Linked DNA regions of Homo sapiens: region 2 is linked to region 1. The links are contacts of gene promoters, found by promoter capture Hi-C in blood cells and fetal thymus (Javierre and others, 2016). All regions are on one chromosome and are shown on one strand. The core of a region is centred on a gene start or on the middle of the fragment in contact, and the rest is flanking DNA. Distances in the headings are between cores, read along the strand shown.

Region 1 (7,433 bases), core at 1,677-4,176:
GAATACAGCAGGTACTATGTACTAGTTGTCACGCTAAGTGCTGAGGAACTTTCAGGAGTTCCTTTAGGAGCTCAGGATATTGAGAGATGCAGTAAATAAGTTAATAAACTACAATATAACTTTTCTTGCTATTAGAGGCATCTAAATAAAGAAATGTGGAAACACAACATATACAATAACTGTAGGAGTTTAAAAGGTTTCATTGAAGACTTTAAAGCTGGGATACCATGAAGAAATATGTTACAAAATAATATGCGGGGATGAGGGTCGGGGGCGTGGGGAAGTGGACAGGCAATCCAGTAAAGACATGGGGTCCTGAAAGGGCTTGGCAAGGCTAGGATACAGCAGACTATTCTCCATGTGTTGTGCAGCGGCAGAGATGTGCAGCTCCAGTCTGACTGTGAGAGTCTTACATAGGAAGCAAGAAGTTTGGCTGCCAAGTGATCACATACTGCCCTATACTTCCCCTATTGTTAGAATTTCCACACTTTTATTGTAAGTACTTATCTTTTTAATCTGCTTCATTAGATTTCAAAATTGTTACGGCCAGACCATGTCTTCCTTATCCACCACTGTGCTCCATGGCATCTGATAGAGAATTAATAAATATGTGTTTTAGGAATGAATGTTTCTGCTTGTTTTGAAGCTTGATGCTCTCTGGAACCACACTACCTACCACCTTCCAAACTACCTCTTTGACTTCTGGTGTTTTCCCTCTTGGTCCATAATCAGGTAGCCATTGTCATTTTCTAGCAGTACTTAGTGGAAGGTTTTATGACTGAGTTCCTGTCTTTTAAATAAAGCTGGGGAATTTAATAGACAATTACGTTTATGGCATTGGATTTGAGTTGCCCACAGTAATGTACTTAGATGGAAAAGAAATTGAAATAGCTCCCCTTTACCAACTCTATCAATATATGATTAAAAGGAATATTTTTATTTTTTAGTTTTTAATTTTTGTAGGTACATAGTAGGTGTATATATTTATGGAGTACATGAAATATTTTGATGCAGGCATACAGCATGTAATTATCACATCAGGGTAAATGTGGTATCCATTACCTCAAGCATTTCCTTTGTGTTACAAACAATCCACTTGTACTTTGTTTTTTAAAATGTACAATTGAATTATTATTGACTGTACTTCCGGAAAGGTGTCCCAATCCAGACCCCAAGAGAAGGTTTTTGGATTTCATACAAGAAAGAATTGAAAGCAAATCCATAAAGTGAAGCAAGTTTATAAAGAAAGCAAAGGAAAAAAAAAATGGCTATTCCATAGGCAGAGCAACGGCTTGAGCTGCTGGCCTAAGGATACCTATAGTTATTTCTTGATTACAGCTAAACAAGGGGTGGATTATTCACAAGTTTTCCAAGGAAAGGTGTAGGCAATTCCCAGGGCTGAGAGTTCCTCCCCATTTTAGACCCATATAAGGTAACTTCCAGACGTTGCCATGGCATCTGTACACTGTCATGGCACTGGTGGGGGTGTCTTTTAACATGATAATGAATTATAATTAGCATATAATGAGCAGTGAAGACGACCAGAGGTCACTGTATTCATCATCTTGGTTTCTGGTGGGTTTTGGTTGGCTTCACTACTGCAACCTGTTTTATCGGCAAGGTCTTTATGACTTGTTTTTCCTGCCTGTGGACCTTCTATCTCACTCTGTGACTAACCTCCTGGGAATGCAGCCCAGTAGGTTTCAGCCTTATTTTACCCAGCCCCTATTCAAGATGGAGTTGCTCTAGTTCAAACGCCTCTGACAACTAGTCACCCTGCTGTGCTATCAAATACTTGATATTATTCATTCTTTCTAACTGGAATAATATTTTTTAAATAGTAAAGAGTGAGATACATGAACTCCAAATATCTGAGACAGGTCACAATCAACTCAGAAAGTTTATTTAGCCAAAGTTAAGAACTTGCATCCATGACATGGCACAGATCCTGACAACATGCGCCCAAGGTGGCTGGGGCACAGCTTGGTTTTACACATTTTAGGGAGACATGGGGCAGCAATCAATATATGTAAGATAAACATTGGTCTGATCTGGAAAAGCGGGGCAACTCCAAGTGGGGAGGAAGTTCCAAGTCATAGGTAGATAACAGACAGTTGCATTCTCTTATGAGCCTCTCCAAATGAGGCAATCAGACATGCATTTATCTCAGTGAGCAGAGGGGTGACTTTGAATAGAATGGGAGGCAGGATTCCCTAAGCAGTTCCCAGTATGACTTTTCCCTTTAGCTTAGTGATTTGGGGGTCCCATGATTTATTTTCAATTCATAAGATATAAAAAAGATATAAAAAAGAAAGGTACACCTGAGTAAATATCTACTCAACAGGGAAGCAGGATACATGTTCTCTTTGCTTTCCCTGTTTCCTTGATAGCCATGCACCTTATGTTTATATTCCTCATTATTTGATGAAGTTAATCATTGCAATAAGAGAAATACGAAAGACTCTAGAACTCTAGACACGAAAGCAATTATACAGCCTTTATGACACGCAAATTTATTCACTCTGTAAAAAAAAAGTAATTACTTTCGGTAGGGTCTCCCATGTATCTTCCAAAAGGCAGACTGCTCTGGGTGCATGTAAAAATTAACACGATACCCTATACAAAAGGGAATGCTCAGAGTTAACAGCTAGAGAAGAGAGGCGCCAATCTTAGACACAGGCTTATTCCTCCGCACCCTCCCCCAAAACAAATGGAGGACAGAAGAAAAAAGAAAAGTAGTTAATACAACTATTACTCTACGGAAATATTAGGGGTAGCGCAAACAAAGTTCTGACACTAAACTTTACTGAGCCCTGCATCCTGCCCACGACCCCCCCAGAAACACCTACGCACCACTCTCCTAGCCGCCGCAGCCCCGCCAGTCTCGCCGGGAGGAACCCCCAGCGCCGCGGTACAACCACGGCACTTCCGCCCGCCCCCCGCGCCTCGGGCGCAAGCGTTTGGTGTGTCTGCGTCGGGGGCGGAGCCTCTTGTCCCTCTGCGCGGCCCGTTCCGCCTCTCTTCTCCCACCGCCTGTCGGCTGACGTGTCTGCAGTTCCTCCGCGTCTACTGCGAGTCAGGCCGTGATGGCGGACGCCTGGGAAGAGATTAGGCGGTTGGCGGCCGACTTCCAGCGGGCGCAGTTCGCCGAGGCCACGCAGAGGTGCCCGACCCTCCCTCTCCTTTGTGGAGCCCAAATTAGGCCGTGGGCGGACACGCCTGTATCTGGGACTTTAGACCCGCGGCCCTGCATCCCGGGTCTTCTCGCTGCTTGTCACCATTCTCTCCTCCTCCCTCTGTCCCGAGCCTGGATCGCAGTTCCAAGTCCAAGGCTCGGCGGGAAAGTCCTCAGCCTAGGACGCCCTGGAGCCCCCCAGCCCAGCTGCAGCGAAATGCTGGCGCGCCCCGCCCCACCATGGACGGGGCCGGTGATTTCGAGCTGCCTTTATTGAGCATTTCTTTGACCCTCCCTCACCCACCAACCACCAAATCACTGTGACATCTTGGCTATTATACACTTCCTGATCTAGAATGAGCTCGAAAGGAGAGGCTAACCCCCGCCCCCAGTACAGTACTTGGCAAATAGTATGTTGATCCTTAAAACTTCTTGCCCTTTTATCTCTCGTAACAGACCTAGGGCTAGACCCCTGACCCCATCTGTTATTCAGGGCACTGACATTTTCTACAAGCCCACTAACCTTTGGAGGATGTGTCCAGAGGAGCCTAACTCTGCTTTTTAAAAATAACGCTAATAGAAGCCTTTCTATTCTTTGACTACTTCCTACCTGCGATGTTTTATTCCTTTTGAGCCGGAAGACAGCAATCCCCTTATGCTGTATTTTCTACCACTGATAGCAAACTCGTAACTGCATGGGTAACTAACGTGGGTAAAAGTTATGGTTTCACTAGGCCACATCCCCTGCCTGCTTGCAGACCATGTGTGTAAGTGAGGCAATTATGCACTTAATTTAAAAGAAAATTCTGATTAAACTGGAAATTAGGGCATTTTTTGTTTTGTTTTGTTTTGTTTTTTCTTTTTTCCTACCTAAATAAATGTCTTCAATTTTCCCTTCAGATTTGAAGATTGGAAGCAGGCCTGTAAGAGACAACAGACTTGAAATTTGTGATGGGATGATGTGTACCAATTAAATAAATGATTTAAGCATATGTAAACCTACTTACTCTGAAAGGTTTTTTTTTAACTTATTGAATCAGTTAGTGAAAAATACAGATATTGTGATGTAGAAGTTAGTGACTAAACAAACTTTTTAAAAGCCTGTTTTCATACATTGTATTAATTTTATTGAGCGCCAATGTCTCAAGTGGACTTTTGAAACAACTTTTTTTCTTTCCCTCAGGTTGTCCGAGCGGAACTGCATTGAGATTGTTAATAAATTGATTGCTCAGAAACAGCTAGAAGTAGTTCATACACTCGATGGAAAGGAATATATTACTCCAGCCCAAATTAGTAAAGAAATGAGAGATGAGCTACATGTCCGAGGTGGTAGGTAATTCTTTAGTGTTTTTTTTTTTCTTGGATTTTTGGAAGGGGCAAAACAAACAAACAAAACCCGTAAACATGTAATTGCATACTAAATTATAGATTGTAAGATATCGTTTTCAATTGTTAATTTGATAATCAGGCTTAATATTTTTACTGGGTTCATGCAAACATGGTCATATAATTTAAATGAACTCAAATGTTGTCACTTAAAATATTTTATCATTTTGAGTTATGTGTACTATACATGAATTAATTGTTTCTTTTTACAATTCATTAATTTATTGCATGACTCAGGGAAGGGTATTCAGCTGCCTTTTATTAGGTGGTAATTGTGAAGGGGGACAGTATCTTACAGGATTATAGATTTTTGAAAATCAAGGCTGTATTTCTTTTTAAGGCTTACTTGTACTTACAAATTAGGTAACTCAATCCAGTGTGGTGCTACACCAATCATATTGTATGAAATGCTGTTAAAAACACGCACAAAGTTGGTTTCCTTTGTCTTCTTAAAATTTGAACAGACTACCAAGCATATTTGAATACTATTTGATTAAAATAGAAGCAATTATGAAAGCCTCTCTTCATATTATCAGAGTGTAACATTGGTCTTTGTCTTTTTTTATTTATCTATTTTCCTTCATAGTACCTTTAAAATATGAGCTATAATTTGAATTACTTAACAGATTTTCTTATGCTGATATGTAGAAGCCTACCTTTTAGTATCAAATAATTGAAAAAAAGTTCATCTTAATTTAGTTGTCAATATCTCTTTGATCACAGTAGATAAATTCTGAATTGTGAAGGGAAATGAATACCCTTCATAGATAGAGCCAATTTGTGTGCCAGTTGGTGCTCATAATTGGCCTGATGTTATTTAAAAAAAAAAAAAAAATTGAAAGTAAGTTATTGCTTATGGCTTCAGCCATGAAGACTTAGCCATCAGCTAATGGTGTGTATTTGAAGACATTGATTATTCTGGCTCTCTGTTCTATGCAGGACTTTGACCAAAACTTAAATGTTAGAATTTATAGCTTTGGGTTGGTATGTACGCATAGATCATTTAAAATAAATGAATGTCTTTTCTTCAAAGGTCGAGTAAACATTGTTGATCTACAACAGGTAGGTTTTAAATTTATAAAATTTTTGCTTTACTTTCTCAATTTTTTGATACTGTGAATTTGTTCAAGTATTCACTAATGCTGGTATCATATTTTGTGTAGTGTTTATAAAGAAATAGTTATATAAGCCTCGCTGATACACTGAATTGATTTAACAAGTTCTGATACATTAAAATGATTTAATAAATTCGGATTTATTGAAATGATTTAATAAGTTGGCCTTATTAAAGAGTTGGCCAACTCTTCCCTAGTTGGCTTTCTTATTCTTAACTTTTTACCAAATGAACTCATAGTTATTTTATGTAAGTATAGAGTTTATGTCATTTTGGGAGAAAAGTCACCAGTTTCATGTTTATATGTTTTTAGTATATGAAAGTAATAGAGAAACATTTTTAAAAGTAGAAGCTATTTTCAAAATATACAAATATATATGTCATTACCAAGGTACACTATAAACAAGAAGCCAGCGAATTTTCTGTAAAATGCTATCTGTTATATGAATATGTAATTTACTGCTTTATATAAACTTACTAGCAAGTGACAGTTTAATTCTTCAGAACTGAAAATAACTAAGCAATACACCTCTAATTTTTTATTTGGCCAATGCTTTTCGTATTATTTCAGATTGATTCAAAATTTAAGAATAAGCAATTTCTTTCTTTCTTTTTTTTTTTTTGAGATGGGAGTCTCCCTATGTTGCCCAGGCTGGTCTCAAACTCTTGAACTGAAGGGATCCTCCCGCCTCATCCTCCCAAAGTGCTGGAATCCAGGCATGAGCCACCATGCCTGGCCGGCAATTTCTTTAAAAATATAGTTCTAAGTATATAATTTCAAGCTTAAGAAACAATACAAACTAATCATTAATAGATTTTGTATTTGTTTTCCAGGTAATTAATGTGGACCTGATTCATATTGAAAATAGAATTGGTGACATTATTAAATCAGAAAAGCATGTTCAGTTAGTGTTGGGACAACTGATAGATGAGTAAGTACAATAAAGTACAAATTTAAGAGCACTTTGTTTATTTTCTTTCTTTTTTTTATAGTGTTTAAATTTAGGCCAATTATGGCCAGTTAGACATTTCATTTATAACTCTTACAGTGTTGATTTTCATGATAAGGTTTATTTCACTTAAAAAGTAAGTGTTTAAGCCACATATGGTGGCATGTACCTGTAATCCCAGCTACTCAGAAGGCTGAGGCTGGAGGATTGCTTGACCAGGAATTTGAGACCAGCCTACGTAACATAGCAAAGATCCTGTCTCAAATTAAAAAAAAAAAAAAAAAAATTCAGTGTTAATGTATGGAATACTTAGAAATAATATAAACTTCTATTTTTTTCTTAATAAGAAAACGTAAAACGTAACTTTTACGTTCCTTCCCGTATAATCTTAACTCTGAAAGCAAATTTGTTCCAAAAATGTTAATGAAAATCAAATACAAATTTCCACTTAAAAAAATCCCAGCATGCCAGCCTGGGCAACATGGCAAAACCCATTTCACTAATTAAGTTTGCTAATTAAAAAATTAGCCAAATGTGGTGGCTCGCACCTGTAGTCCCAGCTACTCAGGAGGCTGAGGTAGGAGGATTGCTTGATCCCAGGAGGTCAAGGCCACAGTGAGCCATAATCATGCCATTGCACTCCAGCCTGGGTGACAGAGTGAGACCTTGATGCAAAAAAAAAAAAGAAAAAGAAAAAGAAAATGTATTGTTTGATTAATCTTACATTTAGCTACACTAATGAGAAAAAAGTATTTGTTAGAATATGAGTGATGAGTGGTGTTCATGTACACACACATTTCATTACTTT
Region 2 (7,433 bases), core at 2,621-5,120, 1.1 Mb before region 1:
ATCAAGTGTCTTCAAACATATAAAAGCCCTTTGCTGTACTCTAAGATATAATTAAGGAGCCCTAATCAAATTCAGAAATAATTTCTTTCAGAGGAAAGTCTATTCCCTATAATAATAAATAATATTATTTACTATTTTATTTAAAGATATTTTATATATATATATATATATATATATATATATATATATATATATATATATATATATATATATGGCGAGGGAGAGAAATAGAGTTTACGAACCACTTAGTGCTTACTAAGCATGAGTGTTCTCTATATTGGCTACACCACCTTACTTTCTCACCAGCAGTGTACAAGGTTTCCCTTGTTTCCCTTTTCTCCACATTCTTGCCAGCACTTGTTATCTTAGGTTCCACAGAAATTTAAAAACAGAATTACCATATGATCCAGCAATCGCACTTCTAGGTATACACCCAAAGGAATTGAAATCAGTATCCCAAAGAGATACCTGCCCTCCCAATCACTGCACCACTATTTATAATATTCAAAAAGTAGAAGTAGCCTAAATGTTCATGGATGGATGAATGAATGGATACAGAAAACATGATATATACACACAATTGAATATTTAAAAAGGAAGGAACCATTGAACATTAAAAAAGGAAGGAAATACTGCCATTTGCCACAACATAGATGAACATGGAGAATAAAATGCTAGGTGAAATAAACCAAACACCAAAGGACAAATATTGCGTGATCCCATTTATATGAGGAATCTGCAATAGTCAAATTCATAGAAGCAAATATTAGAACGGTGGTTTCCAGGGGCTGGGGGCAGGGGGAAATGGGAAGGTATTTGCCAAGGGTTATAAGTTTTAATTTCACAAGGTAAGTCCTAGATATCTACTGCACAGCATAATGTCTATAATAAACAATACTGTAATAAAAACCCAAACATTTGTTAAGAGGATATACCTTATGTTAAGTGTTCTTTATCATCATCATCATCATCACTTCATCATCATAATTAACAAAGATGATAGAAGAAAACTTCTGGAAGAGATGGATAGGTTCATGGCATAGATTGCAGTGATGGTTTCACAGGTGTATATGTATCTCCAAACTCAAGAAGCTGTATATATTAAATATATACAAGTTTTTGTATGTCAATTATAACCTCAACAAAATTGGTTTTAGACATTGTCAAGGGCTGTTCAAAACCCGTTATATATGGTATTCGTTTTGAGACTCTTCTGAGTGATTTGCACTCTTCAAATCCACTTCTGGTTTAACACAGTTTAATAGCGGCTGTCTATGCCTTTCTGCCTCTCAATATTCCTCTCTATTTTATCTAGCTACACCTATAACTCTTATCTATGGTAATCATCTAAGTTGCTAGTTTCAGTCCATCTTACTCCCAGAACTGATTCTACAACAATTCATGTCCTCCTACTACCCCTTCCTTCTTCCACAGCTGACCTACCCTGGTTTCTATACGTCTGCCCTTCTGGCCAATCCAACAATCCAACATGGGGTCCATTATATCCATTATATTTCTGATGTTTCTTTTTGTATTTTGTTTTTGTTTTTTTTTTTTGACAGAGACTTGCTCTGTCGCCAGGCTGTAGTGCAGTGGTGCGATCTCAGTCACTGCAACCTCAGTCTCCAGGGTTCAAGCGATTCTCCTGCCTTAGCCTCCCGGGTAGCTGGGACTACAGTCACCTGCCACCATGCCCAATTAATTTTTTTTGTATTTTTAGTAGAGACGAGGTTTCACCATGTTGGCCAGGATGGTCTCTATCTTCTAACCTCGTGATCCACTGGCCTTGGCCTCCCAAAGTGTTGGGATTACAGGCGTGAGCCACCGCTTCTAGCCTTCTCGTGTTTTTTAATATGTACAACATTCCTTAATGAATGAGCTGCTTTTATGAAGCTGAAACGTATCTAATAACAAAGACAAAAAGGAGAATGGATAAAGAATGTATTGAAAGGGCTGGGCACGGTGGCTCACGCCTGTAATACCAGCACTTGGGGAGGCCGAGTCGGGTGGATCACCTGAGGTCTGGAGTTCGAGACCAGCCTGGCTAACCTGGTGAAACCCCACCTCTACTAAAAATACAAAAAATTAGCCGGGCGTGGTGGTGGACGCCCGTAATCCCAGCTACTCAGGAGGCTGAGGCAGGAGAATTGCTTGAACCCGGGTAGGGGGAGAGGGGCGGAGGTTGTGGTGAGCTGAGATCGTGCCATTGCACTCCAGCCTGGACAACAAGAGAGAAACTCCGTCTCAAAAAAATAAAGAAAAAAAAAATGTACTGAAAAGGGCCGGATGCTGTGGCTCAAGCCTGTAATCCCAGCACTTTGGGAGGCCAAGACGGGTGGATCACGAGGTCAGGAGTTCAAGACCAGCCTGGCCAACATGGTGAAACCCCGTATCTACTAAAAATAGAAGAATTAGCCAGGCATGGCAGCGGGCACCTGTAATCCCGGTTACTCAGGAGGCTGAGGCTGGAGAATGGCTTGAACTCGGGAGGCGGAGATTGCCGTGAGCCGAGATCGTGCCATTGTACTCCAGCCTGAGCAACAAGAGCAAAACTCCGTCTCAAAAAAAAAAAAAAAAAGAAATCTGAATACAAACAAATGATGAAAATGTTATTCAAAAAACATTGGCAAGTGGAGTTTAGCAATATATTAAATACACTGAAGAAAAGTAGCATTTTTATCTAGAAATGCAAAACGGTTTAATATTTAGAAATCTATTAACATAATAAAATATGTTAAAATTCTATAGTAAATTAAAGGCAACAAATTGCATCAGCTCAAACATCAAATACATTTCCATTTTAGTCAAGAACAAGACAGCCAAAGCTTTTGCATCATTTAGCGGTGTTTTTTATGTGCTAGTCAAGAAAAGACTTGGAACAAAACATCATTAATATTAACAGATGATTTGACATTTCCTAACAAACCCAGAAGAATCAACCAATAAACTATTAAAAATTTAATAAGCATTTTTCCAGTATTTCAAAATAAATTAGATAAAATTTAAAATTAGACACTTTAATGATAGCAACAAATATGTCAACTTTTGATGAATTAACCTAACATGAAACTTTGACATTAAAAAGCACTGATAAATGAAAATTATCATGTCAACAAGTGAAATAAAAATACATGATACATTTATGCAGTAGACATGCCAATTAACATCACCATTAAAATTTTTGAAAACTATTTCTAAATATTTTATTAAACCATAAATTGATGAGAAAGCATAGTACATATTAAAATAAAAATAATAATGAGGATCTTGTGTTACAAACATGCTAAAATTTATCATAGAGAAGCTATAATATAACTAATGTTATTCTGGTACTAAAATATACAAATAGATAATGAAACATCTATGAAAGCCTCAAACTGAGATAATTATATAGAGGTGTTTTACAGCATTTTAAAATTCATTTGTATAAAAATAATATACAAGACTAATGTGATCAAATAGTACTTTTAAGGATGCTCGTTACAGCACTGTTTATCACGAGAAATATTAGAAAGCCTAAAGGTTCAACATAATATCAAGTATATTTTATTATCCATACATAAAATACTAAGTAATCATTGAATGAAATGGAAAGTATTACAATATATAATTAAGAAAATATAAATGTATAAAATATTTAGTATTCACCCAATTTTATTTTCTGCCTATTAATATTTTATTGTATATTTTATCAACACTTAGATTACAAAGTATATATGATCAAACTTTTAGGGAACATTTTTACAATGTCTTAATTTTTTCTTTGCATTGTCACTTGCAGATGTCTTCATAACAATCCATTGTTTAATATGCTATAATGTACCTTTAAAAAATGGTTTAAGTTGTTTTTCCTTTTCCCTTTTGTTGTTTTATCAGGTTCTGGAGATGGATGACTTTAACTTACACACTTATTGTTTGTGTATTCTTGACTAACTCACCTAAGATCTAAGCCTAAATAGTCTTCCCTGTTAATGGAAATTAAAAAGAAAGGGGCAATGAGGTTTTTACAAGGTTGAAATGAGGTGATGTACATAAAAGTTTTAGCATAATACTTGGCACATAGTAAGCACTGAGTGAACGGTAGCCAATTTTATTCAAACTATTACCATAAACATAGTTGTAGATAATTTTTGTGCAAATTTATGAGGTTTTTGCTCAGAAGAAATCTTAAAGGTAAAATAGCTGAGTCAAAGGTATAGTCATAAAATTTTTGATAGCTATTACTAAGCTGTCAATAGGGAATATTAGCAATGCAGTAAAGATCCTTTTGCCTAAGGCAAATGAAATGGCTTTCACTCCCTTTCTTTACCAGCTTTGGATATGTTAGAGATGTATTTTTATTTTTTAAATTTGTATTTACTACGTATACATAATAGTTGTAAATATTTATGGGGTACACCTGATATTTTGACACAGCAAAAAATGTGTAATGATCAAATCAGGGTAACTGGGATATTCATCACTTCAACACAATGTTCCTTTGTGTCAGGAACATTCCAGTGCCATCCTTTTAGTTATTTTTAAGTGTCCGATAAATTATTGTTATCTGTTGTTGTTCTATTGTACTACAGAACACTCAATCTTATTTCTTCTTTCCAACTGTATGTATGTACGCATTAATCATCCCCTCTTTGTCCTTCCCCCAAGCTACCCTTCCTAGCCTCTGGCATTTTACATCATTCTATTCTTTATCTCCAGGAGTTCAATATATTTTTTTTTAGCTCCCACATATTAGTGAGAATGTCTTTCAGTGCCTGGCTTATTTCACTTAACATAATATCCTCCAATTCATCAACGTTGTTGGAAATAACAGGATTTTATTAAAATGAAACAATACCAACTTTCTGGAAATGTGTACATTAAATATTGACAAGACATCTCTACATATTTTTCTGTGTTTTTTCATTTTTTTGCAGTAAGCTTATATTACTTACATAATCAAAAAATATTATTTATAAACATTAAATACTGAAACAAGTTTTTTTGCAGATGTTATTACTGTATTGTGTATCTAGAAAAGAGAGTTAACAGAAATACTATTATAACTAAGAAGATAATTAAGTGACCACATACAAGATGAACATATAGAAATCAACAGTTCTGTATACCATTAATCCGTGATTAAAAACTTTTAAAGAAGTTTATATTCAGGCGAAAATAATCATTTTAATGAAATATATATTTTCTAGATTCTTAATCTAGAGCCATTACATCATTCCTTCAAAGGCTATGTTTTAGTAATATATTTGTTATTATTACTTTTCATTGTAATTATATGTTTAATGTATTAAAATATTATTCTGAGATGGAATTTATAGGATTTACCTATGCAAAGATATTAGATAATGGTACAAAGAAAAGGTTTAAAAATGCTGAATATTCTAGAGAATTATATCCTGTTTTATTTTATTTGAACTTTATATATAAGTGTAATTAAACATACAGTATAACATATTTAATTTTGAATATCTAGAAACGTTGCATCACTTAATAATTTATAAATTTATGAAACTAATTTCAGAAATTATATGTTAGAATAAATTGGAAGCTTCTTTAAAGACATCTGTCTTCTTACTTCAAGAATAAAGTGATCTGGCTTAAAATTTTTAGCATGAAGAAAATAATTCAAATGTTGATAATATTTGGTGGAGATTTGTTTTAAAAATATATTAGTTTGTTTGCCTTTTTATAGAAATTTGACAGGGTGACAGGACAATTTCTTAAGGCAACAGTGGTATTTTTATATTTGTGTGACTAAGAAATTATTTACATGTTTTGAGTGCTATTAACTTAACTATCCATGTGATCTCTACTTGAAACTCTAAAATTGATTCTACTTCTCAGTTTTGAGTACCCTCCTAAATTTATTCATAAACAATGTTCCTTTTTATTGTCCAACTAGTATAGATTTTTTTAGGAAAATCCTTTCCTTGGTTTGATGACTCTCCAATTCTTCAGCCAGTTGTTTCTGGTATATAAATCACTTTCAATCAATACCAAAAAGATGTCTCAAAACCACAAATTTACATGCAAATTAAATGACCTACTCCTGAACAAATTTTGGATAAAGGCCGATATTAAGGCAGAAATCAAAATATTTTTTGAAATGAATGTAAACAAATACACAACATAACAGAATCTCTGGGATATAGCTAAAGCAGTGTCAAGAGGAAAGTTTATAACACTAAATGCCTACATGAAGAAGTTAGTAAGATCTCAAATTAACAACCTAACATCACACCTAGAGGAACGAGAAAAACAAGAGAAAACCAACCACAAAGGTAGCAAAAGAAAATAAATAACCAAAATCAGAGCTGAACTGAACAACGGAGATATGAAAACCCATACAAAATACCAGAAGGCCAAACATTTGTTCTTCAAAAGTATAAATAGGATTGATAGACTGCTAGCCAGATTAATAGATTAATACAGAAAAAAAGAGAAGATCCAAATAAACACAACCAGAAATGACAGACAACACATTACCATGGACCCCAGAGAAATACAATAAACCCTGTTATAAACTACAAACATGAAAGGAATGGATAAATTCCTGGAAACATACAGCCTCCCAAGATTGAACCAGAGAGAAACCAAAATCTTGAACTTACTGATAATGAGTTCTGAAATTGAATCAGTAATTTAAAAAAAAACCCTACCATCCAGAAAAAGCCCTAAAGCAGTTGGATTCACAGCTTAATTCTACCAGATGCACAAAGGTGAGCTGGTAGCAATCCTACTGAAATTATTCAAAAAAATGGAGATGGAGCTACTCCTCCCTAACTCATTCTATCAGGCCAGCATCATTCTGATACCAAAACCTGGGAGACACAGTGAAAAAGAAAGTTTCAGGCCAGTAGTCCTGATGAACATAGACATAAAAATCCTCAAGAAAATACTAGCAAACCAAATCCAGCAGCACATTAAAAAAATAATCCACCATGATAAAGTAGGCTTTATTCCTGGGATGCAAGGCTGGTTTAACATATACAAATTAGGAAATGTGATTCATCACATAAACAGAATTAAAAACAAAAACTGTGTGATTATCTCAATAAATTCAGAAAAGGCTTTGATAAAATTCAACACCCCTTCATGATAGAAACCTCAACAAACTAGGCATCAAAGAAGCACACCTCAAAAGCCAACATTGAAAAGTAAAACTAAAATTAGAAACAAGGAAACAGATTTAAAAACCCAAATAATGTGTTTTGCAGGAACTAAAACTAGATCCCAAGTGCCAGTAAGCAAGAATGTTACTTGCTCCTGAGGTTACTCTCCCATTCTCCTTATTAAAAAAAAAAAAAAAAAAAAAAAAAAAAAATCCAAAAAAACCTCACAAAAATAAAGTAAACAAAAGCCAAACAACTATTCTAAACTGTATCAGGTATATTACATTAGATAACAAACAATTTTGAAATGTTCATAATATT

Evidence for each region. The method cuts DNA at HindIII sites, captures the fragments that hold promoters and counts their contacts. A CHiCAGO score of 5 or more calls a contact.
Region 2: a fragment that was not itself captured here is called in contact with the fragment with the promoter of UFL1-AS1 in region 1 in 1 of 17 cell types (endothelial precursors); the score reaches 8.6 in endothelial precursors.

The regions. Positions count from the first base shown.
Region 1 is chr6:96,518,788-96,526,220 of GRCh38, forward strand. UFL1-AS1 (UFL1 antisense RNA 1) reads right to left here and starts at 2,927. Exons shown (of 4, transcript XR_007059687.1): 1 at 1-2,927. It overlaps UFL1 (UFM1 specific ligase 1), which reads left to right and starts at 3,019. Exons shown (of 19, transcript NM_015323.5): 1 at 3,019-3,163; 2 at 4,359-4,504; 3 at 5,595-5,623; 4 at 6,510-6,607. The coding sequence starts at 3,087. RefSeq lists enhancers at 862-1,735, 1,736-2,607, 2,608-3,479, 2,624-2,813, 3,480-4,351. The HindIII fragment of the contact is 5,811 bases long and covers 645-6,455 here.
Region 2 is chr6:95,432,402-95,439,834 of GRCh38, forward strand. No RefSeq gene overlaps it. Among named protein-coding and RNA genes, the nearest start is that of MANEA-DT, 140 kb to the right of the region's middle. The HindIII fragment of the contact is 2,095 bases long and covers 2,824-4,918 here.